Regions from separate parts of the Homo sapiens genome. Here all the other regions are linked to region 5. The links are contacts of gene promoters, found by promoter capture Hi-C in blood cells and fetal thymus (Javierre and others, 2016). All regions are on one chromosome and are shown on one strand. Each heading gives the region's core, a stretch centred on a gene start or on the middle of the fragment in contact. The rest is flanking DNA. Distances are from core to core; before and after follow the strand shown.

Region 1 (3,825 bases), core at 1,297-3,796, 640 kb after region 5:
CGCTAGATGGCTGGCTGACTTTTCAGTTTTCCATCCATCATCTGCATGTTCGGCACCAGTCTTGAGTACCGTTGGCAGTGATTTTCCAAGGCCAGGGCTTCTTTGTTGCCATGGCAAGAATGCATGCAGGCTGTCCCTGGGCAGGCCCGGCATGGAGCAGAGGCTGGGCTGTGCTTCGGAGACCTGTCAGGGTAATTCCCGTGGTGGAAATGGCCTAAGCTATGGGAGCAGTGTGAATTTGCTGCCATAGGATTGATTGCTGGTGAGGTTTCAGTTTGAATATACATGTTTTGTGAGGAAAACTCCCACTCAGGATTCTCTGAGCATGTTAATGAGACTGGTTTTCTAGTCAGTTTCCAACTGACCTTTGGAAGAAGTCCTATCCAGGGATCAAACCCAGCCTGCCTTCAAATGGAGACCGCTGACCAGGGAGCTTCTCCTTGTGGCAGCCACGCCTAATGGCCTCAGGGATTTGTAAGTGCAGGCCTTTCCTAACCAGGTCCCGGGTGAACAGCATTGCCTCGGGTATCCACACCACAAACACCACACCCACCGTCTGGCTTCTCAGTTGTGTTTTTACCTTTATTTCCCATCACCTCCCATGCCTGTATGCATTCAGCTCTCAGAGGCTCAGGCCCCGCATGACAGCCAGAGTTTCCCCCTCCTATGCAGGTAGGATATTGAAGTCATCTGCCGAATAGAAAAAGTCAGGTCAGCACATGTTTAAGGAAGGCCTCCTACACACAGGCTCTTCTCCAAGCTCTGGAAATATAGCGAGCCCCTGGAAATGGCAAGGTCCCTGCCCCAAGCAGCTCATTTGATAGTTGGGGACAGAAACCAGTAAGCAAATGATTTATGAGGCGGTGACAAGGGCTATGAAGAAAAAGCAGGCTATGGGGATAGACAGGACTTGTGATTTTAGCTGTCTCCAAGGTGATTTTTGAGCTGAGATATAGATGAAATGAGGAAGATTTACTGTAGCCGTACTGGACAGAATACTCCAGTGGAGAGTGTGGCATGTGCAAATGTCCTGAGACTGGGACAATGATATGTCTGAGGAACAGAAAGCAGGCCCTAGGACTGGAAGAGTTCTGTGAGACGAGATGGGGAGGTGGGCAGAGAGGGCTGGGAGGGCCTGTCCAAGCTCGCGTAGACCATGAGAGGAAGCATTTTTGGGTAGAGAACAGGTTGCAGGGCAAAAGTGGAAGCAGGGAGGCTGGTGAGAATGTGATCACATTTGCAAAGTTGAAAAGAAAAGCTGGAAAGAATATTGGATAGATTACATCTATTTTGATATAGATATATTTTGAAGGTGGAGGTGACAGGATTAGCTGTTGAGTTGAATGTGGAATAAGAAAACGTGGCTACAAGATTGACTCTAGAATCTTTGCCTTCAGTTACTAGTTGAATGTTGACATCATTTATTAAATTGGGGAAAGCAGAGAGGCCAGGTGCTGGAGGCAGGGGGATTGAGGTGTTTGTTAGAAATCCAAATAAAGAGGTCAAGTCTGCAGGTGGATTAGTGAGGCCGGTGTTAAAGAGTGGGAATCTGAGCAGATAAATAGGCTGTGGAGCCAGAAGTTACCCAAGTCTTTGCGATATTACAGGCTGTAAGATTGAATGCAAACACTGTAGAGAGAGAGAGAAGAAAACAGGTCTGAGGTTTGAGCCCTGGGTACTGAGGTTTGAGCCCTGGGCACTCTCAGCTCAAGGTCTGGGTGGTGAAGAGGAGCCAAGAGAGACTCAGAAGGAGCCTGGGTGGGAGGAGGCTATTCTGAGACTGATTCATGTGGGCTGAAAGGGAACTGATATAATCCAAGATAAATGCCACAGCACGGCACAAGTCTGGAATAAGATGCTAAGGAAGGCAAAAGATCAGAAGGAGCTCATAAATGAAAAAACAACTGTTAAAAATATTTTTTGAAGGATTTTGTAAGTTTTGTTGACAGAGTCCAACTGTTGATGGCATATGGTGTAATGTTAAAAGGTGACAGAGAGAAAGTACAATGTCTCACTTTCTGTTTTACTGCCATGATTTTTCTAAAAAAACTAAACCTACAAAATGGAAAGGGTGGATGCAACATGGTTAGGAGGCAGGAGACCCAGCCTAAGGGAGAAGGCAAAAGAAAGCATTAGCAGGGCTGAGCACAGGGCAGATCGTGGCCCAGCATATAAACATCAAAAGGATCATGAAGCCCATTGCTAACCTATGATAAAGCTTGGAGTGATGGAGAGTCCAGAAAATGTCAAGAGGATTCATATTGCACAAATCTTTAAGAAGGTAAAATATATTTTAGAAATTAGAGATCCGAGAGTTGGGTGGTTTCTAGTGAAATTAAATAAATGGCTGTGATAACGTAGTAGGAACCGACAGGAGTTTCTTGAGGTTAAGGGGTGCCAGATTCAGCTTGTTTCTTTTTCTGAATGACCAGTCTGTGACCACTGACATGTGTGGAGCTCAGACTTCTGGTCAAGGTATTAAACCAAATAGAGCTGAATACTTATCATTGCCTGTTGCTCCAAGCAACTGGCTGGTCATTGGTGTTATTTGCTATAACAAGAAAGACTGACAGAACCAGGTTGTGGCTGGGGGAGAAACTGAGATGTCTGTTAGACGTTTTAGTGGACATGTCAGCTTACTACCTTGACTAGAAGTCTGAGCTCATTTATCCATGATAGATGCAATGAAGCAATTAAGAAAAAAGCCCAGTTTCAATGTAAGAAAGAGAAATAACTAGAAGCAATCAACAAAGAAGGAATGCAAAGCCATGACAGAGAGCCAGCGTTGAAGCTGCAGAGCCCTCAGGGGCTGGATCCACTCCTTATGGCAGGGATTTTGTTCTGTGTAAAGATGGACATCGAGGGCTCCATGTGAAAGCTTGGGTGGAGAAGGACTGTGTAGGCCAGGGCTGGGGCACAGGAAGGAGCTTGCCCCTGCAGACTGTGGCAGGGGGAGTTTCCCATGTAAAACTGAAACCCCAGCCTCTGTCACAAAAAGATGTGGGGCTCCAAGTCACACTGCCTATGCCATAGTGTCAAAATAAACAAACAAAAAATGATAATTATTGTAGAATTTGGCCTCATGGCACTTGTCCAATTTGAAATAAGAATATATGGAGACAGAACTCCAAGCAAAAGGGATTTATTTGGGAATGAACAAAGAAATAGGATTGAGATCTCAGACATATGCATAGACTGGGATGGTCTCTGGCATGTCTGGAGAACAAAGGAAAATTAAGGTTTTACTGGGGAGAGAAGAGGTGATGCAAGTTGTTTTGAAAGTTCATTGTCAAGTATCAGTAGCTGCTAGGTGGGACTCAGCATCTTGGAGTTACGGTTAGGCCTTTGTATTTTTGGACTGACCTTGTGAGAGTTGCAAAACAGGCCAGCGTGCCTCTAGAAGTGGCTAGCTGTTCTTGTGCTGCTAGCTTTTCTTGTGTGACTCATGTAGTAAGCTGTGGTTTGGAAACAATTTTTGAGGTGGATCCTATCATCAGATAAATTATGAGTGAGAGTCCTCCCTTCATGGCCTTCCCTGGCTCTATTTTGCTATGGTTTGAAAGAGTGACTCCACTTTGATTCTGACAACTTTCACACATTTTAGGGCTCTGGCAGATGCAATGTTAAGTCCCCTACAAGGACATACCCACAGCTCACGGCACATCCTGGATTGTTACAGAAGGTAAGTCTTGTTGAAGATGAGCTCACAGACAAAATCTCAGAGTAAATGGGGAAACCTAACACTATGAAAGAGAATCAGCAGATGGAAGAAATGGGAATATTTACTCCTGTGGAACTAGCAGCCATAGAGTAAGTGTATTTAAA
Region 2 (3,536 bases), core at 323-2,822, 580 kb before region 5:
ATAAATAACTCTATTTTTCAAAGAAATACAAGCAAACATGTAACCAAGTTCTTTTACACAGGAACATTCTTGGGTTTTATAAGGTTAAGATTATTTAAGGGAAAAGAACTATAAAATTTAATTTTATTTAAAGGGTCAAATAACATATGGGCACCTTCTCCCAAGATAATTTAAGCAAACAAAGAAAGGAGAAGTTAACATTTCCTAAGTACCCACTAAGAGCCAATACCACAACAGGCTCTCTCCTGTTAGTTCATTTACTCCTCATAATGGTACTTCTCATGATAACAAAATTGAGGCTTACAGTAGTCACGGTCCTGTGTCTAGTAACCCTAGAAACAAGAAAGCTTAAGTTTTAGGGAGAACATGATTCATCTAACTATACCAACACATAATGTTACTTGAAATAATTACTCTGAAAACATGCCCTGGGGTACAAACTTGATATGTGCATATTATAGCTATGGCTTTAAAATGCAGAGAAAAATATACAAAATTAAACATGCCAAAATACTAACAAGTATTTTAGGATCCGGTGAATTTTTTCTCCCATCTGGTAGCTCAACTTTAAATAACATGGCAATAATATTCTAGCTTAAAAAGTGAAAGTATTTCCGTGTTTGAGTATACCCTCTTAAAAATTTACTGAGCCAAATATTTCTTGTTAGATATATGACTTAAGCTATGTGAACCTACCACAGACCAATTTTCAAGGACCAAAGAGCCTTTAATAATATATATGCCCAACATCATGCTATGAAACAGTTAAGTGACAAGATTATTCTTGTCAATGACAAGATAAATGGCTTGAAAATGTTCTCATAAAACCCAAACTTTTACTAACCCAAGTATGCTGTGTCTACAAATTCAAAAAGAATATGAAAAATTATAAAATAGCCTACAAAGCCAATGTTTGAAGAGTTTTTAAATATTTTATCACCATTATGACAGCACAGCATTGCAAAGAGTCATTGCTATACACAGTCACTGAAATATAGCACATTCAGGTAAGTTTCCAAAATCATACACTTTTCAAAATTCCTAAATACATTTTTCTTGAGTTCTCACTGGGCACTCAACACAGTACTGTATTAGATTCCTTGTCAGTCACAAGCTCTATTATCCCACTGAAACAGGCACTTATCTATTAAAACGGTATTAGGACTTGAGAGATATCATAGAATCTTACAATTACCGTACAATAGTCTGTATGTTGCCTAAAGTTTACTTTAGCCACACTTCATAATTTAAAAGAATGCAGATGGAAAATTTAACTATCTAGATTGTAAGCTCTAGGAAGGCAGACATATTTTGGTTTGTTTTCCTGAGGTATCCTCAGAGTGCAGAATGGTCTCCAGAACATACACACACTAGGTAGAGTTCGAGCATTCCTAATCTGAAAATTCAGACAACTCCAAAATCTGAAACTTCTTGAGCACTGACATGACACCACAAGTGGAAAATTCCACACATAAGCACCCAACACAAACTTTGTTTCATGTGAAAAATTATTTAAAATAATGTGTAAAATTACCTTCCAGCTATGTATATAAGACACATGAATTTCGTGTTTAGACTTGGGTTCCATCGCCAAAATAGCTCACTCTGTATAAGTAAATATTCCAAAACTCGAAAAAATTCTAAATCCAAAACACTTCTGATTTGAAGCATTTTGGATAAGGGATACTCAACGTGTATTTGTTAAATGAGTAATAAAGGCCTTAAGTGGGAATAACATAAGGTGAGGAAAAATTAATCCAACAAGAATGTATTTCATGTCTACTACGTGCAAGACACCAAGAATCCAGGCGGAGTATGTCACAGGGCCTGACCTTAAGAGCTGCTGTCTGATGAGGAGCCAGCCAAGCATACTGTAACAGTATAGTGTGACATGCACTATTCACAAAGTATGTATATGATATTTCAAAAGTGTACTGGAAGTGCATCTATATGAAACTGAGCTGCAAAAAAAAGGTGTGCAGACAACAGGCATGTTTGCATGCAGTTTGTGATGGCTGAGTTAAGACGGGAGGGTGGGGAGAGGCATACAGTACCAGCAGAGGCAATTAAAGCAGGAGGCAAAAAGGAAAATTATAATTGGCTTTTGGAATGCTCTCCATGATATATCCATCACATAACTCTAACACCATTTCTATGTGTGACTTGATTTATTTTAGTTGAAACTACAGAAATCATCTCTAGCTAAGTCCAGAAAAAAAGAACAATCTTCTCAGGATCAAAGTCAGTTGAATGACTAAACACTTGGGAAGGTTAAGTACCAACGCAGCACAGAGAGCTTAGAAAAGGGAACTCAAGGATCATTTTACTAGAGTACCATCAGTAACATGACTCAGCTATACCCTGTCTAGAACCTAAATTATAAATCCCCAAGAGAGATGACTTAACTGGCCAAGGCAATATTAGAAACTGTGACTCAATCAGTTACAGCTGGATCGGGGCACAGCACTGGGAGTCACTCCCAAAGAAGTGAGAGACACTGGGCAGTCATCCAAAACTCACCCGCTACACTCTACCCCAGATTTCCTGACACATGGTGTAGCATTCCAAAACAAACCCTTACAAGGACACTGCATAAGACAATGATTGTAAAATTTAGGAATCCTCATGAATTTTTTATGAGTTTCACGAAAACATAGCATTATGTATGGCATGACAGGGCAAAAAAGGGGAGAAATCACTACAGTAAAGAAGTACTAGTTTAATAGACTCGAGCTAAAGAATACACTTAGACAACACCACCACAGAATTTGGGACGAGTATGCTGGAAATTATACAGTTAAGCTTAAAAGTTATCAAAACAATATCCAAAGTTTTTAGAGTGGTTTTGGCAATTAAATTGCAAGCTTAAAAAAAATCCAAAAGACAGTTTTTTAAAAGTCAGATGAGTACAACAAACCAACAGTTGAAACTGACATTTAATGTCATTTCTAAAATAATGTAACACATTTCCTAGTTGTAATGGTAAAAGAAATTGAGCACTCAGAAGGTCCTTAGATGCTTTAGAAACATCTATAATGCCGCCGGGCGCAGTGGCTCACGCCTGTAATCCCAGCACTTTGGGAGGCCGAGGTGGGCAGATCACGAGGTCAGGAGATTGAGACCATCCTGCCTAACATGGTGAAACCCTGTCTCTACGAAAAATGCAAAAAATTAGCTGAGTGTGGTGGCGCACTCCTGTAGTCCCAGCTACTTGAGAGGCTGAGGCAGGAGAATCACTTGAACCCAGGAAGCGGAGGTTGCAGTGAGCCAAGATCGTGCCACTGCACTCCAGCCTATGTGACAGAGCAACACTCCATCTCAAAAAAAAAAAAAAAAAAAAAAAAGCCATCGATAATGCCTCATACCTCCTTCTTAGCCATCATTCACACTGCAGTTATAAATCACTGGTTATCCATCATAATAAACAATCTTGTTTATCTCAGTCTACAAAGAATAACCACACTTCTTATGACCAGGGCCACAATACACAGAGAGATAACTGACATTCTTAAACTGCAAAGTAAATAAAACTGCTA
Region 3 (3,474 bases), core at 1-2,500, 700 kb before region 5:
TAGGGAAAACTAAACTGTATCTGTCTATGTGTTTAGAATTTATCCCATTAAAGAAACTGCCCAGTTAGTCTCATTTTCTAAACGTATTTATTTTTTGCAAGACGAGAAATACAGTCTTACAAAAAGACATCTGCATATTCGAACCAAGCCTTCCTGGATTACTACCTTCATGACCTTGGACAAATGCCTTAATCTCTCTGAGCCTCAAGTTTTCACCTGCAAAATGGGGCAATTTACCCACCTCATTGAGCTGGGAAGATGAAGAGAGATAATGCATGACAACTGCCGGGCGCAGACTAAGAGCACCCTAAGTGCTACCTAAATATTCCGTAAAGAGAAAAGGGGGAAACAACCTTACATCAAAAGATTACCACACTGTGACAGTGCAAAGACAAGCACTTTTTCGCTTACTGCATGTACCATTTCTGCTTCATCCCAAGACCAGATGCAACCTTTCTTCTAAAATCTCTGCAGGGTACGTGTCTGACAGCTAACACAGCCCAGCAGCCTACTTCGCGCTGACCTGGGCTTTAGGACTGGATGCAGGGGGCCCAAGGTCCGCCCTCCCGCAGCTAGGCAATCACCCAGCGAAATCTCCGCCCCTGGAGCGGCGCTTAGGCCGCCGCCAGCCCCCCTCCCGGCGCCCAGCCCGCGGCCCCCGACACACACGCGCGCACACACACACACACACACACACAAGCGCGCGCGCACGCACACACGCACGTACCGGCTGCTCCGCAGGGACGTAGAGAGCCGCAGGCCCAAGGAGGGGCCGCCCCCGCCGAGCCCGCCCCTCCGCCCCAGCGCGGCCTGTCACCGCGGCCCCAGGTCGGGGGCTGCCGCAGGGCCCCCGGGGACCGGAGGGGCGCGCGAGGAGTCGGGCGCGGGCCTTGGGGCCAGGCCCGTCCCTCTTTCACATGAAGCCCGGGCCGGGCGGGGTGGCGGGCGCGTGAATCCTCGCAGCCGGCCGGGTCCTCCTGGCGCTCCTCGGCACTTCTAGCCGCTGCAACCCCGAGGCCCGCGGGAACTGGGCAGGAAAGGAGGAAGCCGCGGGCCCGCGTCGCTAGAGACCGGAGAAGAGGCGGGAGTGGCGACTCTGCGGACAGGGGCGCCGAGCGTCCTGGTCGTTGTTTTCGTCGCCGCCGCGGGCCGTGCAACCCCCGAACGCTGCGCCCAGCGGCCGCGGCACCCTCGTCAGGCGCCGCCGCTGAGGGCAGGCAGCCCGGCAGCCACTACACACGGACCCGTGACGTCGGGCGTAGCGCGGCGCACGTCACGGCCGCTCGCTCGTGCGCGCGCACCCCTCCGCCCGGCGGTAGCGGAACCCGCCGCGGGCGCGCGCCCGGCCCAGGGGAGTGGGTCGGCGCCTGCGCAGAGGCCCGCCACGCCCACACACAGGCCACCGCCCCCACCGGCCGGACGGCGCGGGGATTCCCAGTCCTGGCTCCGCCCCGGCCTCGGCCCCGCCCCCGCCCCTGCCCCGGGGCAGCCTGTGCTGTTCCGTGTGCGCGGCGCATACGCACCTGGGTTGTCTCGAGCCTGCGGTAGTGGCCAGATCCCAGACATCCGAGTAGATCCCGTGAAAAGGTCTCCCACGTGGGCTGTGGACAGGGCCCAAGGGTAGCAGAGCTAGCAGAGGCAGTGACGGACTGTGTGGCAGGTCATTTGCAAGGAGAAAAGCCGTCTGCCTCTTAATTTGTGGCTCAAGTTTCAGAATTTTTTTCCTGAGGGACTTTAGAAATTACTTCAGGCTTGCCACCTAACCTTAAACCACCCCCTTGGAGACTGGCTAAGTGTTATTTGTGTTTTCTGTTTAGTTCTTATCACCATCGATACTTGGTTATGACTGGTTGTGTACATTGGTTAGCCCAGCAAGTATTACTTCTCCAGCTTAACAGATGTGGAAACTTAAGCCCAGAGACATGAGTTGACACCCCACCCCCAAAGCTAGAGTCTAAAACCCTTTCTTTCGCTCCTCATCTCCCACAGGATAAAATGCAAATTAATCAGACTAGTGGTGAGGCCCTCCGTGGTGTGACTAACCTGCATCCCGACGTTTTCACCCTACTTTGATCCAGAAAGCACCTTTCCGCCCCATCTCTTCTCCTTTCCTTAAATACCCCTTACAACTTCCTGTACCATTCTTCCCTGTTCAGCTTCTTCTTGGTTTCTTCGTACATTCTGGATCCACCCCTTTCATGCATATTCCAGACCACATTTCCACTGGAGCAGTTGAAATGAGAGAGATGGGAATGGGACTCACCCGAACCAGAGGTAAGGAGCTACCCAACTTGGGCTCTGAGGGTCAAGGGAGCTGGCACTTGTGGGGCAGAGACTGAGGGAGAAACTGTTGTGTAATGTCAAAATATCTCTGGGTTTCTTCCAGGAATTTTTATTACAGACCCATTAACAGAGGTGTCAAAGTCACAGGAACAAGGATGTGCACCTCAGAAACACAGAGGTCAGTGGAAAATCAGTTTGCTTCTATTTGTTTAAAAAATGGGGGACTTATGCATAAATCTAAGACCTTCTTGAATCTAACATTCTAAGACCTGTATGCCACAGAAAGGAGGGTCTCAGAACGCCGGAGGATAGTATTTAAATCTTAAATATCTATATTGTTCTCCACAGTTACTGGGTCACCACATAGCAGGCATTCAATAAAAACGTGTTTGTTTACTAAGTAATCTAGAGATAAATTTTTTCCCCTCATAGTGCTGCTCATTTCTCCACTCCCTTCCCTCACTTACCACCCCGGGGACTTCATTCACCTCTGGGTTCCTCAGAAACATCCCGTGGGTATAGTTATAGTAGCTATTCTTTCTTTTTCGCCATTCTCCTTTTATATTGGTGACTTTTCCTCTTGCTTAGATATTAAATCTCTGACATCTTTGGTTATTTTAGTATATATGATTACAAATTAGTGATATTGGGATTTTTTTATTGATGAAACCATCATTCAATGAATATTTTTTTGCCTTCCTACTCTGTGCCTGGGATTGCAGTGATAAAATTATATAGTCCCCACTGCCCAGGAACTCAGAATCCTGTGAGGAAGGCAGACAGGTAAATGGATAATGATAACACACTGTGACCTGCATCATGGGAGGGATGTGTATCAGGCACCACAGCAGCAAGAGGAAGATGTCACAGGTGTGTCTGGGGAAGTGAGAGATGACTTCAGAGAGGAAATGTGGCATGTTCCTTTTCTGTTGCTGCATAACAAACTGCCACAAACTTAGTGACTTAAAACAGTGTCTGTTTTTTAGCTCCCAGTTATACAGATCAGAAGTTTGCACAGGGGCAAGGCTGAGTTCTCTACTCAGGGTATATTGCAAGGCTGAAATCAAGGTATCAGCTGGGCTGACTTTTTATCTAGAGGCCCTTGCAAAGATCTTCCAAGCTCATTCTTCTTTGGGGCACAATTCAGTTTCCTGTGGTTGTAGGATTGACATCCCTATTTCCTGGGCCTGC
Region 4 (3,700 bases), core at 1,104-3,603, 660 kb after region 5:
GCCTTCCTCCGGGGCTCAGTTCCAGGCCTGCCTATTGTGTTTTATGCATCGGTGTTCTCCTTCCGTCTTGGAAGGAGTGGGAAGGAGAACATCCTCGGGATATCCAGTGGGAGGCCCTCAACCTGCTGGAGCCCAGATTTCTTCCTGTCTCTCCCAGAGCCAGAGGAAGCCAGCTGGGCTTCCTTCCTGTCTCTCAGGTTGATCTTTCTATTTTCCAGGGTGGCCCATTTACCTTGTAGTCACCACATTTGGGGGCATTGAGAGAATGCTTAGAACTTTTTTTTTTTTAACCTCCTTTGCCAGCTTGACCTCTGGTTGGTGGAGAAGAGTAAGCGCCATGCTGAGCTAGAATACTCTGATTTTTTTAACTTGGCCTCCTTGTCTGCAGCTCTAGGATGCAGTCCCTTTTCCCTTGCTTGGAGGCAGTTGGGAAGGTTTTTGCTGACTTTTGTCCTCATCTGTTGGAGAGAAGATTTGTGATCCAGCGTCACTCTCCTCGTATCATTATCCCATTTCATTTAACATCAAAGCCCTCACTAGTCAGAACTGGGCCGCACGCGTGTATATTTAGAAGTGCCTGACATCCTTCCAGGGCTGCATTCTCCTGCATTATCATATCAATTGGAGCCCTGCTCCTGTGCAGGTGAGGTGGGGCTGGGGGTTATCTTGCAAGATCAGAGACATAAGAACTTTATTTTGTGCTATATATAAAATCTCAGTTAGGAAATTAAATTCTGCACGGGGGAAAGATGTCAAGGTTGCTTTGATCACATGGAAAAGCAGCAGAGGCGCAGCAAGAGAGAGATAACCAAAGGAGGAAGCTTGCAGGCGCCTCCTCCCAGGCCAGCTGCAGGATGTGGGCAGGAGAGTCTGGGCTCTCAGTCCCGGTGGAGACAGGCCCTGTGTGCAGTGAGTGCTGCAGGAGATGGTCTGCTTACAAGCATGTGCTTCCTGTCATCAGTGCAAGCTGTTAAGTGTGAGAAAAAATGACCGGCAGTGAAGCAGAAACTCACTAAAAGTATTAATAGCCGGTGGCTGTCACCACTTGCTTGCTGTCCTTTACACCAACACTCCCCTAGCCCTCTCCCAAATGCCCAGGCTCATTTACTCCACTATGCAGGACCCCACAGGATGCTGCGGTGTGTTCCGCTTCTCCTCTGGTCTGAACTGTACCTGCACACAGGGCAAGTCCCAAGGGAACCAGAAGCCACCTGGAACAGGAAGCAAATAATAGCACCATCACCACCACCAGGATAGCTGACATCAATTACTGATTGTCTACTAGGAGTCAAGAACTGTGTTATTGTTTTACAGACATTATTTCCTATAAGTTGATCTCATAGTACAGATACAGAAATGGAAGAAAAAAAGATGTTAGGCTATGTATACACATCATATGGCTAGAAAATGCCAGAGAACTTTTTCCTAAGTTTGTTTCTGAAATGCAACATATATTAACTTTTTCCATCTCTTCACCTGACCCCCAAAGATAAAAAGACCTAGAAATCAATCCCACAGTCAGTCTGGGTGGAGTCCGTTTCCCTGTGACGGGAAAGCATATTAACGGGAAAGCATATTAAAGCTGAGGTCCTGCAATTCAACCCACATCCCTGACCCTCGGCCCTGGAGACTCTGGGGGGCAGTGAGCTGTGCACCCCAAAGAGACAGAGCTCCGGAGGCCGAGGCGGGCGGATCACGAGGTCAAGAGATCGAGACCATCCTGGCTAACACGGTGAAACCCCGTGTCTACTAAAAAATACAAAAAAAATTAGCCGGGCGTGGTGGCGGGCGCCTGTAATCCCAGCTACTGAGGAGGCTGAGGCAGGAGAATGGCGGGAACCCGGGAGGCGGAGCTTGCAGTGAGCCGAGATTGCTCCACTGCACTCCAGCCTGGGCGACAGAGAGAGACTCCGTCTCAAAAAAAAAAAAAAAAAGGAGACAGAGCTCCTCTGCTTCCAGCAAACCTCCCTTTTTCTCTCCAAAAATACACATGCATGCCTTTTTTCCTGCTTCCACTGCTGACTTAGTCATTTATTCATTCGGTCAATATTAACCGAGAGTCAAAAAGTCCCAGCCGCGCTCAGGATGCAGCAGAGAGAAAAGCGAAGACCCCTGCCCTCATGGAGCACGCCCTCTAGTGGGGAGAGACGGAAAACAACAAAGATAAATAAGGAGTATTCCAGGATTTATCATGGTTAAGTCTCAAGCAGAAAAATCAAGCAGGAAAATGGAAAAAGAGACTTCACATTGGCCTCTTGTCTGTCCTCACCCGGCAGCTTTCCCAGTGTCGAGGACCCCTCTGAAAACTTTTTTTCGGAACTGGCTGTTTAGGTTTCATATATACCCTGCTAGTGCCAGAAGATTTTAACCATCTCCGGGGCTGTGCCTTGTGTCGATTATGCATGACCATGGATAATCCAACAGCTCTGTGCCCCGGTAGGAGCTCCCTGGAAGAGTGTTGGCTGATGGTGTGACAGCAACTGTAACTCTGCATAAAAGTTGCAGGGGCTCCTTGCCTACGGAGGACGCATGGATGCCCCATCCTGTGGGCTGTGGGGAGAGAAGAGCAGGGACAGGAGAACTAGCATGTCCCACGGGACCACCTGCCAGGCAGTGGCGGTGGACGTGTTTTCTGAGACAAGCCTCACTCCCGTGGTTAAATAGGGGCTATCTACATTTTCAGAAACTCATAGACGTGAGGAGGTGCACCTGCCCGAGGTTCTAAAACTATGGAGCTGAAGACCTGAGATCCAAAGTCCAGCCTGCCTGATGTCATTCTTTGAGGCTCGAAAACAAAGTGAGTCATCTCTGAAATCAAATTACTTGAATTTGAGCAAATCTTATATATTAAAACTTGTGGCAATCACTGCATGATTTATTATAGGACTAGTAAATGAACCACAGCAACACCAAAAATAGAGATGAAAAAAGGGGCAAAAGAGTCATGCAGAAGATGGTTGGATACATTGAGATCTGGCATTGAGCTCCAATTATGCTGAACTGACAGCTGGGAGGTGTCCAGGCTGTCAGATGTGTTCTCTCCCACTCTCTAGTGTACAGCTGGGGCCCATGTGTGACACTTAGCAGGAGGCCCTTTTTCCAGTCCCTTCACAGAGATGGAATGACGCTGTCAGGAGGGCTGGGCAGCTGCTAGCACTGGATGGAGAGAGAAACGAGGAGAAACTTCCAGTTTATGGTGTGTGGGTGTGGTGTGGATGGGGCAGGTGCAGACCAATCTTTCTGAAAAACACTTGGTGATACATACGAAGAGCTTTAAAAAACTATCTTTTGGCCAGGTGCGGTGGCTCATGCTTATAGTCCCAGCACTTGGAAGGCTGAGGCTAGCAGATCACCTGAGGACAGGAGTTCAAGACCACCCTGGCCAACATCATGAAACCCCGTCCCTACTAAAAAAATACAAAAATTAGCCGGGCATGGTGGCACGCGCCTGTAATCCCAGCTACTCAGGAGGCTGAGGCAGGGAGAATTGCTCCAACCTGGGAGACAGAAGTTGCAGCGAGCCGAGATCGCGCCACTGCACTCCAGCCTGGGCAACAGAGTGAGACTCCATCTTAAAACAAAAACAAAAACAAAAAACAGCTGCCTTTTGATTGAGTAATTACTTTGGTAGGAATTTATCCTTAAGCTGTAATGAGGAATATGGATATTACATAAAGGAGTTTCTTGAAGCAGTATGAAG
Region 5 (3,841 bases), core at 378-2,877:
TATACAGAGAAAGCAGGAAGAAAGCTAGAATTGAATGCTCTGCTACACATGGGCCTAGAGCCCTCCAGCTTCCAGCAGGGCGAAGGGAGCAGGTTTTTCTTTTTTCCCACAGAGCTGGGGTGATGTTGATTCTATACAGTTTTTGCTCAGACAGGAAGGGATAAAAATGAATTTCGAACAGAAAGGGGTAGAGACTCTTTTCCCATTGTATTCTGCTGAAGTTATTTCCCCCAAAATAAGTTGAGAACTATAGTGTAGAGAAAAGAAACCTCAAGAACAGGGCGACTGAGCACAAGAGAGAAAAAACAAAAAACAAAAAAACAAAAAAACTGCAACTTGCTCCCAGGGACTGGAGAAAATGTAAAAAAAGGAAGGTTGGAATCCATCAGTGTTTTTTTGCTGTTGTTGTTGCTGTTTTTTTTTTTTTTGAGATGGAGTCTCCCTCTCTCGCCCAGGCTGGAGTGCAGTGATGCGATCTCTGCTCACTGCAAGCAACCTCCGCCTCCCGGGTTCACGCCATTCTCCTGCCTCAGCCTCCATCCTCAGCGTGAGCCACCGCGCCCGGCCTCCATCAGTGTTCCATTAGTCATCTCCTTCATCCTCCTCTCCTTCCTCCCCTTCATCATGTTGGCTCATGTTTATTTATTAAAATTATTTTGGGCCGGGCGCAGTGGGTCACGCCTGTAATCCCAGCACTTGGGAGGCCGAGGCGGGTGGATCATCTGAGGTCAGCAGTTCGAGACCAGCCTGGCCAACAGGGTGAAACCCTGTCTCTACTAAAAATACAAAAATTAGCCAGGCGCGGTGGCGCACGCCTGTAATCCCAGCTACTGGGGAGGCTGAGGTGGGAGAATCGCTTGAATGCGGGTCGGGGGGTTGGGGGGTGGGGGGCGCGGGCGGGGGCGCGGAGGTTGCAGTGAGCCGAGATCGCGCCACTGCATTCCAGCCTGGGAGACAGAGCGAGACTCCAACTCCAAAAAAATATTTTTGGCTTTTCATTCACTTTGACTTAATATACTTAAAAATATACCCTCCAAAGAGGTATTCATTTTTGGGTGGGTTAAATGCTACCTATTCCAAAACAATTTTAAACTGGTTTATATTAGTTAAAAAAAAAATACTAAAAGGACAAAGTAGTCCCTGTAGACTAAGCTGCCGCTGTCCGAATAAGAAAGCTCAAGCGGCTCATAAAATTTAAAAAGTCTTCCTTTCATCATGCCTCCTGGAAGGTAGCTATCAAAATTTTAGGGTTTAGTATAAAGTCTAAGATGCTCAGAAACATTAAGACAATTGTCCTTACTGTGCCACCGAAAGGCTAAAGGGAGTAAGCTTTTAACAAAGGTTTAAGGGAGTAAGTCCCAGAGTCCAAACTGGATTTCACCGACTGACTGTTGAAGCTTTCGGGTCTCAGCTGTTGGCCCAACGAACCTTCCCAAGACCTTGAAGACCGGCAGCCTACCCGCCACCCTGAAAGGCGGAAGTGAGGAGAGAGGCAGGACTCCCCCCTCCCCAACCCTCGGAGATGAGAGGGCGACCGCGCGACGCTCTGGGCTGCTAGGTCTCGACTCGGTATCCGGAAGTCCTCCAGCGTTCGCCTGCAGGAAGCGGAAGTAAAAGGGCGGCCGGCAGCTGGGCAATTGCTTTGCGAGGCTGGGTGTTGAGTCGAGCCGCGGGAAAGGCGCGTGTCGGCCTCTCACTGGCGCAGCCTGCACTGCCGCTGCCGCCTCGCCCCGCCCTGCCCTGGCGTTGTCTCTGGCACTGTGGCGGACTGACCACGGCCCGGGCATGGGCTGCAAGGGAGACGCGAGCGGTGCGTGTGCCGCGGGTGCGCTGCCGGTGACAGGTACCCAGGGGTGGCGTGAGGAGGCCTCGTGGACAAAGAGAGGGTTTGGGGCACAAGGCGACCCTGTGCCCCTGTCACATTGAGCTTCCGCCTCTACCGTGACTCAGTTTACCCTCTGGTGTCCTATCCCTTCCCCTATTCGCGAGCGCCCCGAGTTGCCCTCAGTGGTCTTCTTGGCAAGGTATCGCTTCCGCGGGGGTGGCGGCGGGCTCTGTTCAGCGGTCTTGAACCTTCTTTGAAGAGCTTTAGATCCTTGTGCCAAGTGCAGAAGGAAATGGGGGAGGTATCCTACCATGGATTTAGACCAAGCTTGATCCTCAGTGAGTTGAGAAGCAGCACTTTGCAGGACCCTGATTGCAGAACGACGTGCTTTTTAAAATAGATTTCAATTTTTCCTAAAATGAATTCGGGTTGATGCGTATTGGTTACTGTTTTCTTTTAACACTGTGATCTGTTGGCTGGAAATTGGATGATATGGTTTCACTTTTAGCGTGGGACCTGCCAGAATGAGATCTGCGTCCGTCGCCAATAACTTATAGATGTGAACTGTTTTTGTTCCTTGGCCAGAATCTGCAGTTGTTTTGCATTTCTTGCCAGATTTGAGAAGGAGCAATTTTGTTCGTTTGAAGTCCTGGGGTCTTTTGCCTTATTGTGCTACACTAACTGTTTTGGAAACATTCATTGATGTACTTGCCAGCCAATTTTAGTGTAAAGTGCCCTCTTTCCTTCAAGAATCTTACACTTGCAGGCGTTTGAAGACATTTTAAATAGCTATTTAACAGCACCACAAAACTTGGAATAATTGTAGCCTTTTCACTTTGCTTTTTTTTTTTTTAAGCCAGTCGAATTTAGCAACACTTGACTTGCTTTTGATAAACTTAGCTGAAGCTTATTTTAAAAAAATTCTTATTTATTTATTTATTTATTTATTTTGTAGAGATGAGGTCTTGTTACCTACCAGTCTGATCTTGAACTCCTGGCCACATGAAACTTATTAAAGGAAGTGACCATAATACTTTGTACAGTAGCATAGCACATTTATAATGCACATTGAACTTCAGGGGAATATATGAAAGTAAGAAGAAAATTTGCTTAGAACTTTCCTGCAGCTGTCTGTGAGCATTTTCTTTTTTTATCTAAGTTTCCCTGTAACAATACAAGATGATGTGATAATTTTCTTTCTTTCTTTCTTTTTTTTTTTTTTTTTGAGATGGAGTTTCACTCTTGTTACCCAGGCTGGAGTGCAATGGTGCAAGAGATAGTGTTTTAATTTATTTTTTTATTTTTTGTTGGTGAGGCAGAGTCTTGCTCTGTTGCCCAGGTTAGAGAATAGTGACATGATCTTGCTAGCTGCAGCCTCCACCTCCTGGGCTCAGGTGGTCCTCCTACCTCAGCCTCCTACGGATGGTTGTTGATAGTTGGGCCTAGAACTTGTTAAAGAGTGTTTTCTGTTTATTCATCATGCCGCAAGTATAATGCTTATCATGCAAAGCCACATGGCACATTCTGTTGGCCATTATCTCAGACTGTTTGTCTTTATAAGCAACATTTAAGAACCCCTAGGGTCAGAATGATAAGGGATCCTATAAAATGAAGACATACTCAAAGCAGAGACCACTTCAGTGAGATTCTTACGTCTGCTTCTCTGGACAGTCTTTTCCTCTGGTTTTACCTGTAGAGTTAAGAATGTGGGGTCAGAGTGGCAAAGCTCTTTTTTAATGTATAGCTTTCCTCCTTTTTTCATCTCAAATGGTGCTGCATCTCTCCCCAAGAACACGTACTCTCTCTCCTTTTTGAAAACAGTGTAGGGGGATCTCGAGGCAGGCCACAGGTTCATAGGATTTTCATTTTACCTATCTTGCAGTCCTAGGCATTTTATAGCATCTTCACTCTTGGTGCCACACTCCTTTCCTGTTGTTTCCATTCATGCCTTAATGAATGAGGCCTGTGTTTATTTCATTTTGAGAGCCTTCTATGTTTCAGGCATAATGCTAGGCG
Region 6 (3,492 bases), core at 317-2,816, 680 kb before region 5:
TGAAACTGAATATAGTTAAATGGAAAATCCTTTGACTTGCAGCTCTGCTCTTAGAGAGCCCTCAGTACACTGACTCCTGAGGTCAGTCCAATGTGATGGCCTCAAGCTGCTATCTCAACAAAAGCGTTTGAGAATGGAATACTTAGGATTGTACCTACAAGCAACGGCAGGGTTTTAGATTTGTAGGGATTCGTTTCCAGCTGTCCAAAGATGTCCATTCACTTTGCATCTGCAGGCTGGTTTTGGTAAACCAGCAGTTTGTCATCTTTTGCATCTATCATGTAGGATATCCATGGCTAAGATATCCATCCTTTTTGAACTTTTTTTTTTTTTTTGAGTTGGAGTCTTACTCTGTCGCCCTGGCTGGAGTACAGTGGCGTGATCTCGGCTCACTGCAACCTCAACTACCCAGGTTCAAGTGATCCTCCGGCCTCAGCCTCCCAAGTAGCTGGGAGTACAGGCGCGTGCCACCACGCCTGGCTAATTTTTGTATTTTTAGTAGAGACAGGGTTCGCCATGTTGGCCAGGTTGGTCTCGAACTCCTGACCTCAGCTGATCCACCCACCTCGGCCTCCCAAAGTGCTGGAATTATAGGCGTGAGCAATGGCACCCGGCCCTTTTTGAACATTTCTGAGCACACTGGATGTCACTGTAAGTTAAACCTCTCTCTGTCTCTCTCCTTCTCTGTCTGTGTTTCTCTCAGGAAAAATAGTTTTAAAGCACAAAGATACTTTGAACTTGTGAAGTTGAAGTTGAAGTTGAATTCCAAATAAGTTACAGTTTTAGTAAAGAAGTGAGAAAGTCTTGTTTAAATTGGCTGTCCTTTTCTGGTGACATTTTGGTTTCGTTTCCAAAAAATGAGTCATTTTTCATTATATGAGCTTTGTCAGTACCTACCTATAACATCGACAACTCAGGGACAGTCAGTTCATGCTTTTCCAGAGCCCTTATGGGCTCCTCAAAGATCATCAGGCAGTTTTGGAGGAAGAACTTATAAATTTCAGTTTGACTGTTTAACCATAATCTTTTTCTCTATTTTCATTCTTAATATATTTCCAAATTAGACAAGGACATTCTTCTTGTCCCATGCTTTGAAAATATGGTTGTATGGCAGGCTGCCTTTTTACCCTGGCAACAGTGACAGCCCTCGTGTAGGCACATGTCCAAAGGAGGCCATCTCCTTCCATTTCTGGAATGTGAAAAATCTCATTAAGTGCTTTTTCATGCTTTGAGGAAACTGAAAAGTAAATAAAAGCTTTCATTTTGAAAGCATCAATATCACAGGGAAGGAAACTCCACCCCTTTTTACTGATGTGTACAAAATGTGCAGGACACTTCGTGGCTAATATTTTTAACTTTTCTTTGGTAAAGCGTTCATAGACTGCATGGAATTTGCAAAAATTTACATTTGCACGGTCTGCCAAATAGGCAGACAGATGGGCAAAGTCATGTTTGTATTTGGACAAGATAGCATCAACATTCTTTTTTTTTTTCTGCAGGTGGATTAAAATCTTCATAGAAATAAAAAGGATGATTTGAAACTCCATTTTTTCAAATCAAAGTATTTACAAGTTAGGAGAACTGTTTTTCATTGCCATGATTGGATGCAGCACTTGGTTACTGTAGAAAGCATGATTGTTGGTGGGATCTGGCAGAATCCGCTGCATGTTGTAAAGGGTCAACACAGCTGCCATCGACATTTCTCCCTTTGTTCACCCACGTGATATTTCAGTTACAGCCTGTAAATGAGGAAATGTGCCCCTACTCAGTTTCAAAAAACAATCAAAGGAGCAGCACAATCACACAAATTCATTTTTGTAGTTTGCCCTAGCTAATTCAGCAGCCACTATTTTCAATTGGTGTCTTTTGTGGAGACAAAAAGCTTTTTGGTTAATGTGGACATACTTGCCTATCTCACTGAGGACTTGTGAGGCAGTCTCTACAGTCCCTTCTTCCACCATGCCCAACCCCGAATTCTCTCTGCTTATTGCGCAGTATCCCTTGTTTTGATTCTTTACCTCCCTCATCCAGTTGTCTGTGTCACTCCTCCTGTCGTTAAAATAACATGGCCATTTGGGTCACGCGGGCATTGATATTGCAACACCATTTCCTCATTTTCATCACCTGAATGCTTAAGAAAACATGGCCTCAGTAGTCACCATGCTAAAATTAAACTAGCAGTGTCTCAATACAAAGCACAACAATTAATCCGCAGGCAAAGTGGATGGTCACGTTCAAGATTATAGCGCGCTTAAGTTACATCACAAGGAGTGACATAATAATGGATGATCCACTATGGTGTACTACAAATCATGGTGGTTGTCCTCAGCAACAGACACTAAGGAAGGTGATGTGCCCATTTGGCACTAAAACCAGTGTTGCCTTCGGCCTCTGTTTCTGGGGTTGCCATGTGGGTTTTATACCTTTCCCCTAATCTCCTGTATCAATCACTGAAAACCTCGACTTTTCTCTTCCCAAGGGAGAGTTTACTTCCCTTTAACTTTTTGGCTTCTTCTTTAGGACTTTTAGTGTTAAAAATGGTACAATCCCAGACAAATGGGATAGTTGATCATCTTATCATGTTTATAGAATCAAGAAATAATGTCTCAATTTAAAAAGTCAATTGTATTTATAAACACTAGCAACAAACAATTGTAAGTTCAAATTTTTAAAATGCCACTTACAATAACATTTTTAAAACATGAAATAAGTAGGGATAAATTTAACAAAATATGTTCAAGACCTATACCTGAAAACAATTAAACATTGGAGAGAGAAATTAACAAAGAGCTGAATAAATGTAGAGAAATACCATGCTAATAGATGAGAAGACTCAACATTAAGATGTCTTTTATTCCTAAATTGTTCTATAGATTCAATTCAATCCAAATCAAGATTTCACCAGGAATTTTTTTTTTAGAAATTGAGAAATTGGTTCTAAAATTTATATAGAAGTAGAAAGGACCTAGAATAGCCAAAACAATTTTGAAAAATAAGAACAAAGTTGGAGGACTTACACTACTTGATTTCATGAGTTACTTGAATCTTGTAATAGCAATTAAGACATTATAATGTTGGCATAAAAATGAAAGATAGATTAACAGAACAAAATAGAGTCCAGAAGTAGATGTATGCATATACGGTCAATTGATTTCAACAAAGCACCAAAGCAATTCAATGGGAGAAAGGATAGTGTTTGCAAGAAATGGGACTGTGACAACTAGATCTCCATATATTTTAAAGAATGATTCTTGGCCCCTACCTCACACCATATACCAAAATTAACGAATTCAAAATGGGTCAGAGATGTAAATGTAAGAGTGAAAAACCATAAAGCTTCTAGAAGAAAACATAAGAGAAAGCCTTTGTGACCTTGAATAAGGCAGTGTTCTTTGGTAGGACACAAAAGCACGAATCATAAAAGAAAATGTTGATAATTGGACTTCATCAAAATTACAAACATCTGTTCATTAAAAGACACTGTTAAGTATA

Evidence for each region. The method cuts DNA at HindIII sites, captures the fragments that hold promoters and counts their contacts. A CHiCAGO score of 5 or more calls a contact.
Region 1: a fragment that was not itself captured here is called in contact with the fragment with the promoter of UGGT1 in region 5 in 1 of 17 cell types (fetal thymus); the score reaches 5.3 in fetal thymus.
Region 2: a fragment that was not itself captured here is called in contact with the fragment with the promoter of UGGT1 in region 5 in 7 of 17 cell types (total CD8 T cells, naive B cells, total B cells and 4 more); the score reaches 6.8 in total CD8 T cells.
Region 3: the fragment with the promoter of MAP3K2 here is called in contact with the fragment with the promoter of UGGT1 in region 5 in 7 of 17 cell types (naive CD4 T cells, total B cells, naive CD8 T cells and 4 more); the score reaches 9.5 in naive CD4 T cells.
Region 4: a contact is called between a fragment that was not itself captured here and the fragment with the promoter of UGGT1 in region 5, in 1 of 17 cell types (fetal thymus). The highest score is 5.5, in fetal thymus.
Region 6: a fragment that was not itself captured here is called in contact with the fragment with the promoter of UGGT1 in region 5 in 2 of 17 cell types (activated CD4 T cells and naive CD4 T cells); the score reaches 5.6 in activated CD4 T cells.

Annotation. Positions count from the first base shown.
Region 1 is chr2:128,724,671-128,728,495 of GRCh38, forward strand. No RefSeq gene overlaps it. Among named protein-coding and RNA genes, the nearest start is that of HS6ST1, 410 kb to the left of the region's middle. The HindIII fragment of the contact is 660 bases long and covers 2,217-2,876 here.
Region 2 is chr2:127,506,388-127,509,923 of GRCh38, forward strand. The region is part of intron 2 of IWS1 (interacts with SUPT6H, CTD assembly factor 1); the gene reads right to left. Among named protein-coding and RNA genes, the nearest start is that of IWS1, 18 kb to the right of the region's middle. The HindIII fragment of the contact is 2,455 bases long and covers 346-2,800 here.
Region 3 is chr2:127,386,725-127,390,198 of GRCh38, forward strand. MAP3K2 (mitogen-activated protein kinase kinase kinase 2) reads right to left here and starts at 1,251. Exons shown (of 17, transcript NM_001371910.2): 1 at 728-1,251. MAP3K2-DT (MAP3K2 divergent transcript) reads left to right here and starts at 714. Exons shown (of 4, transcript NR_187129.1): 1 at 714-828; 2 at 2,157-2,274; 3 at 2,387-2,461. RefSeq lists a silencer at 671-1,540. The HindIII fragment of the contact is 12,520 bases long and covers 1-3,474 here.
Region 4 is chr2:128,753,453-128,757,152 of GRCh38, forward strand. No RefSeq gene overlaps it. Among named protein-coding and RNA genes, the nearest start is that of HS6ST1, 440 kb to the left of the region's middle. RefSeq lists an enhancer at 1,138-1,337. The HindIII fragment of the contact is 3,069 bases long and covers 820-3,700 here.
Region 5 is chr2:128,089,573-128,093,413 of GRCh38, forward strand. It overlaps UGGT1 (UDP-glucose glycoprotein glucosyltransferase 1), which reads left to right and starts at 1,628. Exons shown (of 41, transcript NM_020120.4): 1 at 1,628-1,843. The coding sequence starts at 1,786. RefSeq lists an enhancer at 1,390-1,699. The HindIII fragment of the contact is 755 bases long and covers 1,396-2,150 here.
Region 6 is chr2:127,410,074-127,413,565 of GRCh38, forward strand. LOC124908047 (translation initiation factor IF-2-like) reads right to left here and starts at 281. Exons shown (of 3, transcript XM_047446883.1): 1 at 223-281. The coding sequence starts at 281. RefSeq lists enhancers at 752-951, 1,092-1,141. The HindIII fragment of the contact is 627 bases long and covers 1,254-1,880 here.